2 separate regions of the Homo sapiens genome follow, and region 2 is linked to region 1. The links are contacts of gene promoters, found by promoter capture Hi-C in blood cells and fetal thymus (Javierre and others, 2016). All regions are on one chromosome and are shown on one strand. Each heading gives the region's core, a stretch centred on a gene start or on the middle of the fragment in contact. The rest is flanking DNA. Distances are from core to core; before and after follow the strand shown.

What was found. The method cuts DNA at HindIII sites, captures the fragments that hold promoters and counts their contacts. A CHiCAGO score of 5 or more calls a contact.
Region 2: a contact is called between the fragment with the promoter of MAB21L4 here and the fragment with the promoter of MTERF4 in region 1, in 4 of 17 cell types (M2 macrophages, endothelial precursors, M0 macrophages and 1 more). The highest score is 9.3, in M2 macrophages.

What each region holds. Positions count from the first base shown.
Region 1 is chr2:241,101,037-241,105,863 of GRCh38, forward strand. MTERF4 (mitochondrial transcription termination factor 4) reads right to left here and starts at 1,251. Exons shown (of 4, transcript NM_182501.4): 1 at 1,217-1,251. The coding sequence starts at 1,237. RefSeq lists enhancers at 498-1,037, 1,038-1,577. The HindIII fragment of the contact is 6,512 bases long and covers 1-4,827 here.
Region 2 is chr2:240,893,606-240,898,432 of GRCh38, forward strand. It overlaps MAB21L4 (mab-21 like 4), which reads right to left and starts at 2,551. Exons shown (of 5, transcript NM_001085437.3): 1 at 1,879-2,551. The coding sequence starts at 2,392. RefSeq lists enhancers at 1,179-1,814, 3,087-3,722. The HindIII fragment of the contact is 9,523 bases long and covers 1-4,827 here.

The sequences.
Region 1 (4,827 bases), core at 1-2,500:
ATGGAAGACAATTTTTCCACAGACTGGTGAGGGGTTTCAGGATGATTCAAGCATATTACATTTGTTGTGCACTTTATTTCTGTTATTTTCACGTTGTAATATAAGATGAAATAATTATACAACTCACCATAATGTAGAATCACTGGGAGCCCTGAGCTTGTTTTCCTACAACCAGGAGGTGCCATCTGGGGTTGATGGGAAACAGTGACAGATCATCGGGCATCAGATTCTCATAAGGAGCGCAACCTGGACCCCTCAAAGGCGCAGTTCACAATAGGGTTCGCGCTCCAGTGAGAATCTAAGGCGGCTGGTCTGACAGGAGGCGGAGCTCAGGCGGTAATGCCAGCGAAGGGAGCGGCTGTAAATACAGTCTGGCTGGCTCACTTGCCGCTCACCTCCTGCTGTGCAGCCTGGTTCCTAATAGGCAAGGGACGGTACCGGGGGTTGGGGAACCCCTGCTCTAAAACCTTCACATCGGTCCCAACCCCTTCTCCAGCGTCATCGATTGTCGCCCTGGGGCCACCCTGCCAAGCCCAAGCTCTGGCTGCTCTCCAGCCTCCCCTGTCCAGATGCTCCCTCCGCCAGGAACACCTGGCAGTCGCTGGGGTCAGCGGGCGCGGCCCGTGGAACTGGGCTCAAGCCTAAAGACCTCTATGCTGATTCCGCTTCCTCTTAATGAAAAGTACATGTTATCTTCCTTGTGAAGTTCAAACTCTTGTTCAACAGTCAACTCAGGCCGGGCGCGGTGGCTCACGCCTGTAATCCCAGCACTTTGGGAGTTCGAGGCGGGTGGATCACCTGAGGCCAGAAGTTACAGACCAGACTGGCCAACACGGTGAAACCCCGTCTCTACTAAAAATACAAAAATTAGCCAGGCATGGTGGCGGGCGCCTGTAATCCCAGCTACTTGGGAGGCTGAAGCAGTAGAATTGCTTGAACCCGGGAGGCGGAGGTTGCAGTGAGCCGAGATCGCGCCATTGCACTCCAGCCTGGAGACAGAGCGAGACTTTGTCTCAAAAAAAAAAAATGTCAACTCTATATCCCACAATAATTGAGCAGAGCCACGGGTCCAGGATGCCAAAACCAGGTCAGCGTGCACGGACCTCCGGGAGGGCTCCACGACCTGGCCGTGAAACACTCGGCGGCCGCGGTTCCTCTGCGTCGCTGCCCGCCCGCCTGCGACCCGGAGAAGCCCGCGCGCCCAGCTCGAGCTTACCTGACGGCCGAACGCAGCCATAGCGCGGAGAAGATGGCAGCAGTTACGGCGCCGGAAGCAGCGGTCCTCCCCCGTCCTTCACTTCCGGCCCCCGGTCCGTCACCGACGCCGTTCCCAGCGCCAGCGCGGTGTGGTGGATCGTGATTCCGGCCCGGAGCTGTGCTGAGCGTTCACGGCCCCGCGGGGCTCAGGTGTCCCGGGGCCGCCCCTTAGAAAGCCGGAAGGCCGGAGTCGCGCCCGTCACCGTGCCGCCGCCTCTGCCGCGGCCTCAGCCTTCGGGGGCCTCGGTGTCCGGTTGTTCCCGTTGCACTGCCGTGTCCCGTTTCGCAGAGCTCTGGGCCGCGTGAACGAATGGGTCGTCCTGGCCCATACTTGTGTTTCAGATGACCTGAGAATTCCTCTCAAGAGTACAGGTAGAGGGGAACTGGTTCCTTGCTTCGGGAACTTCACCCGAGAGCGCAGAAATCCTTCCCGAGGCAGGAAAAATGGATTCCGTTCCATGTAGAGATATTTAAGATTTTATTGTGTAAAAATCTGTATTCAGCGTGAACACCGGGGCCACCTACGCACAAAAAGAAGTCTTTACCGCTTTTCTTTCTTTTTACTCTCAGCCAGTGGAAGATGAGAATTTGCCGTTTTTAAAAGACCCAAGTAAAATGACAGGAATTACGGCACATTTCCCTTTATAAGCAAGAGCCTTCCCAACTTCGAGGTCTGGTTCCCTCTTAGGATGAAATATAGTAAAGTTTTAGCCCAATGTGTATTCATTCTTAAATTTCCTCTCTCGACCTAAGAGCGTAGGCATCTTTCACAAGGTGATGCTTGTGAAGAATAAAAAGGTGTGCTTTCTCAGCTGCCTAAATCCTGCCACCAAAGCCTTAATTTATAAGCATTTCTTGTTTTATCTACTTCATTCTGGACTGACATAAAGGATTTGATTCTTGCATGGGCACACATTTACATATCTGCTTTGCGCCAGGCATGGAGTGGGGTGCCAAACAATTTATGTAAAACTGTCTTTTGACAAAAGGATTATGTCAAAGAAAAGGAAGGTTCTAATCCGTGTAGAAACTAAAGAATTGGTTGCTTTGGCAGAGTGCAGTGGCCCACGCCTGTAATCCCAGCACTGTGAGAGGCTGAGGTGGGGGGGATTGCCTGGGCTCAGGAGTTCAAGACCAACCTGAGCAACATAGGAAAATCCTGTCTCTACAAAAAATAAAAAATTAGCCGGGAGTAGTGGCGTGCACCTGTAGTCCCAGCTACTCAGGAGCCTGAAGTGGGAGGATCACTTGAGTCCAGGAGGTTGAGGCTGCAGTGAGCCATGATTGCACCACTGCACTCCAGCCTGCGTAACAGAGCAAGACCTTGTCTCAAAAAACAAAAGGAAAAAAAAAATTGGTTGCCTTTGTTGTTTTTTATAATGTAATTTTCTTCTCAAAATACTCAACTGTCAACATCTCACAATAAATTGTGTTAATGCTACACCAAAAGCCTAAGAAAATCCCATGAGCCACCCCAACTCCCTGGAAAGAATCAAGGAACCTGAACAGTTTGTCTAGCTCTAGAAATAAAATGACAGCTGGGACATGGGGATTACTATGAAAAATTGACATGAGCCCGGGTGTGGTGGCTCACGCCTGTAATCCCAGCACTTTGGGAGGCCGAGGTGGGCAGATCACCTGAGGTCAGGGGTTTGAGACCAGCCTGGAAAACATGGTGAAACCCCATCTCTACTAAAAATACAAAAATTAGCCAGGCATGGTGGTGGGCACCTGTAGTGTCAGCTACTCAGGAGGCTGAGGCAGGAGAATCACTTGAACCTGGGAGGCGGAGGTTGCAGTGAGCCAAGATCACGCCATTGTACTGCAGCCTGGGCAACAAAAGCGAAAGTACTTCTCAAAAAAAAAAAAAAAAAATTTGACATCACCTTCAGTCTTGTGTGAAAACTTTGCTCTCTCGAACCATACTTTAAAAATATGCAGTGGGTTGGGCACGGTGGCTCATGCTTGTAATCCCAGCACTTTGAGAGGCTGAGATGGGTGGATCACCTGAGGTCAGGAGTTCGAGACCAGCCTGGCCAATATAGTGAAACCCTGCCTCTACTAAAAATACAAAAATTAGCCAGGTAACGTGATAACGCACACTTGTAATCCCAGCTACTCGGGAGGCTGAGGCAGGAGAATTGCTTGAACCCAGGGAACGGAGGTTGCAGTGAGCCGAGATTGCACCATTGCACTCCAGCCTGGGTGACAGAGCAAGATTCCATCTTAAAAAAAAAAAAAAAAATGGAGTGGAAAAATTGTCAGCCTCAGCCTCAGAACTTTCCTCTCTGGGTTCTTTCTGCAAAGAACGTTTGCAAAATACCAGACCTTCCACTGCCATGAAGTCAGATGAGCTTTAATTATTTTTTCTTATAAAGAAGTAACAGTTCTTAGAAAGCTCAGACTATGCATTCTCAACCCATTAAACACCTGTCTGCAAACACCATTGTGGCCGAACGCAGTGGCTCATGCCTGTAATCCCAACATTTTGGGAGGCCGAGGCGGGCGGATCATGAGGTCAGGAGTTTGAGACCAGCCTGGCCAACATAGTGAAACCTCGTCTCTACTAAAAATACAAAAATTTAGCCAGGCGTGGTGGTGGGCACCTGTAATCCCAGCTACTTGGGAGGCTGAGGCAGAATTGCTTGAACCTGGGAGGCGGAGGTTGCAGTGAGCTGAGATCGCACCATTGCACTCCAGCCCAGGCGACAGTATAAGACTCTGTCTCTAAATAAATAAACAAACAAACAAACACCATTCTATAACATCCTCTGTGTTATAAGCACCATAAACACTACAAGGTAGGGGTTCTTAAAACATCAGAAAACTCTTTGAATTCTGAAGAGTGAACATCACTGACTTTAATACACACCTGTAAAACCCTTGTACCTTGAATGTCCCTGATAGAGGAGGGTCCTCCCCCACCAACTCCATCAGTCACTTGTGGTGGCAGCGAGGCTCAGGCAGCACTTTCTGAAGAAAGGGATGGCAATAGCCCATATCCTACTAGATGGGACTAAAATTAACTCTGATCATCCCAAAACAGTTGAGTGCCTCCTAAATAACCACTAGAAATAGCTCAGAACCACGCAGGAGGCAGCCTGGCTCCCAGGCAGCTTCCAGAGGGTTCTGGGCAGGAGTCTCAGAATGTGGAAAAACCGTCTGCAAGTGATGACATGTGGGAAAAGGGTAGGGGTTTAGGTTTTTGGTTTTTTTCCTACTGTCTCAGCAGGGGAAAAAAATGAAAGGTTCTGCTCTCACCTCTAGCTATTCCCTCCTCTCTAACACAGACATGAAATAAAACAATCCTAAGTACTTGACCTAGCCAAGTCTGTCTGAGGGGGATGGACTGGAGTCTAAGGGAGGGAAGCAGCCAGTTGAGTATCTGACAAACACCCTGGAACCTGAGCAGCTCGGAGGAATACAGGGCTGGAGCCCCTCACACAGACCAGAGGTGGGGGCTGGGCCAGGAAGCCCCTCATGTGGACAGAGGTGGGAGCTGGCTGGCCATGGGATATTTGGGGACTGCTGGCAGTGAGCCAGCCACGTGTTTGACAGCAGAGTCTTGCT
Region 2 (4,827 bases), core at 1,301-3,800, 210 kb before region 1:
CACCTAGGCTGCCACTTCCCCTTTAAGGTGAGTGTCAGGAAACGATGCCTGGAATCTCCCTGCATGCCCAGCCCAGCGCAGCTTCAGGGGCTGTGGGCGCGGCCTGCAGTATCGAGTCTGCTTTCTCAGGAGGCACTCTGGGGGCGTGAGGAGCCTGGCGGCTTAGAGCAAATCCGAATGACTCAGGGCCTGGCACGGCCTCCTGCTCACCCCAATGGGTGGGCCTGTCTCACAGGTGGGGACAGGGCCAAGTGAGGTCGGGAAGAAGATAGAAATACCCACCCCATGGCCTGCATGATTAGAGGTTCAGAAGATGCTGGAGCAGGAAGCCCGAGGGGCTGGGGGCAGGGTGAGGGCTGGCTGGGAGCACCAGAAGCTGACACCCCAGAGGTCAGGTCAGTCACTTACCCCAGGGCACTAGACAGGTCTGGGGAGGGCTTCTGTTAGAATCCACCCTCCTGGCCTCCCAGCATGCAGACTGGAGGCCTGGCTATGTGCGGCGGTGGCAGCACACCCTTCCCCAGAACCCACAGGAGGTGCCCCTGCCTCCAGGCAGGCCCCAGCGCCGGGCATCCCCAAGCAGATCATGGCCTCTCGCGAAGGTGAGCTGACCCCACCCGCTGACCTCACGGAGGACATGAGGGTCAGATGAATACTAGGGAGGTGACTCGAGGCAACAAAGCCCTGTGAGGACTGTGGTGACTCACATGTGACAAATTCTGTTCCAGTCCCCAGTTCCCTTCCAGGACAACCTGACCCCCTGGAGGATGGCTGTACCACTCAGGGTCCCCATCATCCTGGCCCCTGCACAGGCTGAGCCCTGTCCTCCCAGCGACCGTCGCCGTCCAGGCAGCCCCTGCTGAAGGAGCCCTGGGCTCAGACTCACCCTGGACCATATCAACAAGGCCCCAAAGGTGGGCCTGGTGCTGTGGCTCACACCTGTAATCCCAGCACTTTGAGAGGCCCAGGTGGGCGGATCATCTGAAGTCAGAAGTTCGAGACCAGCCTGGCCAACATGGTGAAACCCTGTCTCTACTAAAAATACAAAAATTAGCTAGGCGTGGTAGCCCATGCCTGTAATCCCAGCTACTCAGGATTCTGAGGCAGGAGAATCGCTTGAACCCAGGAGGCGGAGTGAGCCAAGATCGTGCCATTGCACTCCAGCCTGGGTGACAGAGTGAGACTCAGTCTCACAAACAAACAAACAAAAGGCCCCAGAGGAGAGACTGAGGCCAGCCCCTGGTCCACGCAGAAGCCCAGCCTCAGAGCCCACTTGGGGCTCAAGACACCAATAGACAACTCAGCCATAAGCTGATAAGACACGGGCACACACCTGCACACGCATTCACACCCCTGCACTCACGCGCACGCAGGCAGGCACACACACACCCCTCCCACCTGGTGCAACATCATCAGACACTGGAAGTGGGCACGGGATGGCCTCGGGGAGCCTCGAGGTCACAGGCTGTGACTGGCAAGAGAGCCGCCTGCCCAGAGCCGTGTGAGGGACCCTCCTGCAAGGCCACCAGTGAAGCAGCTGCCCCAGACTCCAGCCACTGGACGACTGGCAGCCGTGGAACCCCCGTGCAAACACACACGACACGGAACACGTCATCTGTCTTGTTACAGGCATTTGGAGCTGGAAGACCTAAGTGAGGTCTCCCGACTTCTGTGCCCCAACACACTGTTCACACTTGCACAGTGTCACACACGTGCACACATGCCTGTGCGTGCAGTCACACACAGAAGACAGTCGCCACCCTGTGTGCACGTACATGGCAATCACACACATGTGCACTCACACACTTGCACACAGACACCCACACAGCAGCCCCTCGGTACACGCAGATACGCGTGCAGAGTGGGCTGTGCCTGTACCTGGTGCGATGAGACTGTGGTGCTTGCAGTGTACGATGGCTGCTACCAGCAGGTCCTTGAGGACACACAGGACCTTGCTGGGCACAATGTGTCCACGGCACTTGGCGTCACCCTCCGAGGAGGCAGTGAAGGTATCCTCGGTGGTCCACCGCTCCAGGCCAGCCCCTTCCCTGGGCACACCCAGGTGGCATAATTCAAGGCCATCCTCCGGCTGGGTGGCCTCTGGTTCCTCAATCAGTAGAGCCTCGGCATCCACCCACAGGGGCACCTCCATGTCCATTGGGTCCTCAGAGGAGCGCAGGGCGAACTGGAAGGCCTCCAGGCCACGGGAGTAGTCCACGATGAAGCGGGGGTCCAGGGCATGCACGCGCTCCAGCACCGTGAGCAGCACGTTCTCTGCGCGCTGGAAGTCCTGGGCACGCGGCGCCTCCCGGGACCGGATGGCCTGCAGGTAGTGGTGCCACAGGGGCACCTGCACGGCCATGGCTGAGGTGGGGAGAGCAGGGGCAGGCATCCCTTCAACAGTGGCAGGTGAGGGCCAGTGGCCCCTGAGGAGGACTCCGCAGGCCAGCTGTGCAGATGGGCTGTGAGGAGGCACCTGCCCAGGTGAGCAGCAGGTCTGCAGGTGGGGCCTCAGCTCCCACACAGCAGAATTCCAGAGTGACAGCACAGTGTGGCAGGTGAAATAGCTGAACTATTTAAGGCCTTTGAAGTGGGGGTGAGTCAGTCCCCAGCAATTGGGAATGTCACAGGGGCCATGCAGGGCAGGCGGGGGCTGGGTTTGGTTACCACCCTCCTCCCTCCCTTCAGAAGAGCTCTCTCATCTTAGGCCCAAGGCACGGCCCCTGTCCCAGCCAGGCTTGGGGTCCCTGGAGAAATATTGCCGCTGGACTGTGCCGTCCCTGGGATGGGAGCCTCTGTGTGTTGCTGATGGGCCTCCTTCCACCCTCCTCCCCACAGCCCAGGGGCCGGGTATCTGGATCAGGCCCCCCTGCCCCAGCCTCCCTGCCAGGTTGGAGGGAACACAAGGCACCCCGTGGCTCAGTGAGGAAGGGGAGGCAGGGCGGTGGCTGCCCAGACCCCGCTGTGGGGGAGCCCCCGACTCTCTAAGGCTGCCTGGAAGGCTGGGAACCTGGAGGCTGCGTCTCTGCAATGTTCCCCTCAGACACCTGTGCCCGGCTTACAGGCTGCAGTCCTGGCATGGCTCCTGCCTCTGCCCCAGCTGTGCATCCAGCCATCTGGGCCCTGGACCCCTGGGCTACCAGTCCCCACCCCACCCCACCCCACCCTGCCCAGCCTCCAACCTGAGAGGAGCTGGCACCCACCTAGCCTGGGAGCTGGAGCTCGTCTGGTTCTGGAGAAAAGCAGTCTCCGTGGCTCCACCTCACCCAGGTGGAGAAACTCGCCCCACCATCCCCCTCCAGCACCTGCACCAGGTACCCTGCCAGCCCCGCCCCCCTCCCCTGCTCAGGGCCGTGCAAGTCCCAACCAGCAGGGAGCCGCCCCATCGACCCTTGGCCCTGCCAGCTGGCCGAGTGCATCGGGTGCTCAGCCACAGGGGTGTCTGCAAACAGTGAACATGGAGATGGCCCCACAGGGGCGTCGTGGAGATGCTGCCCCTGTAGCCACCGCACGTGGGCCTCTCACCCCCCGGGGAGCTGCATCTGAGTCAGAGCTGTGGGCAGAACCAGGATCCCAGGAGGGGTGGGGCAGGGGGCAACAGCCACTCACTTCCTGGTGCTTGGAAGCCCCTATGAGGGGCTGCAGCCCAGTGAGCGGGTCTCTGCTTCCATGCCTCCCAGGACAGGGAGCTCACCACCTCACAGGGTAGCCCACGGTCAAGCGAGAGACAGATATCCCTCCTCCAAGCTGGCCCACTCCTGTTCCCTGGAGTTGCTTAGAGCACGTGTCCCCCTCCCCGAGGGCAGCCATTCAGGTTCAAGGCCCCATTTGTCCTGGGCCCTCACCCACGGCCTGCCTAGGTCCCCACACACAGCCGTGTGCCACACTCCTCCATCTCCACAGGACTCTGGCCTGGGGGAGGTGGACGCTGCTGCAGGGCAGCTGGGGTCCTACCCCTCACCCTCGGCCGCAGTGGCCCAGGGAGCTCATCTGCCTGTTCTGGGCCTTGGCTTCAACATCTGTGATTTGATGACACCTTCAGTGTCCCAGCTCCTCCTTCCCAGGAACCTCCCGGTGTTCTGAATTCGCCCAGGAGACCCCCAACCACACCCCAATCTACCCAAAGTGCCCAGGGGCTCTGAGCCATGGGAGGGGCTCGGCTTCTCAGCCCCCAAGCTGCTCCCTCCAGTGGCCACAGAGCAGGGCCCTTCTCCCTCGGGAGCGGCCCCCAGGCTTTGCATCCTCCTTTGCCCCTAAAGCCCCCTCTCCACTGCTGTCAACACCAAGAGCACAAGACCATGTCCCCCCTTTCCTCTCTTCAGCAGGGGATTCCACCTGGCTGACACCCTGTCCTGTCCTTCGCTGGCTCTGGCCTCCTGGCTCCCACCAGTTCCTGAGCTGAATCCAGCTGGTTGCCCCAAGGGACCCCACTCTCTCCACCTGTGCCCCAGCTGAGGTCAGAGCCTCTGATGGGCCAGGCCCCATCCTTGCCCCTTGGCCCTTCTGGCAGGTGGTGAATGACATGGTGAGCTCCCTATGGCTGGAACGGTGTCACACTCCTCAGTGTACCCTAGAGCCAGGCACGATGCCAGGCACACAGGAGCATGTGGAGTACACCAGGGAACTGTGGACAAGCAAAGGTCCCCGGGAAGCTGGACCTGTGGGAGAGAGAGGAGAGCCGCTGCTGACGGAGGGGATGCGGGCACCCGCCCTGGACGGCTGGGCAGCTTTGACCACAAAGGGGCCAAGTGCTCCAGAGGCCTTCAGGCAGCCACTAGCCACAGTGCACCCAGGACTCCAACTCTGACCCCAGGAGGGTAGCGTGGT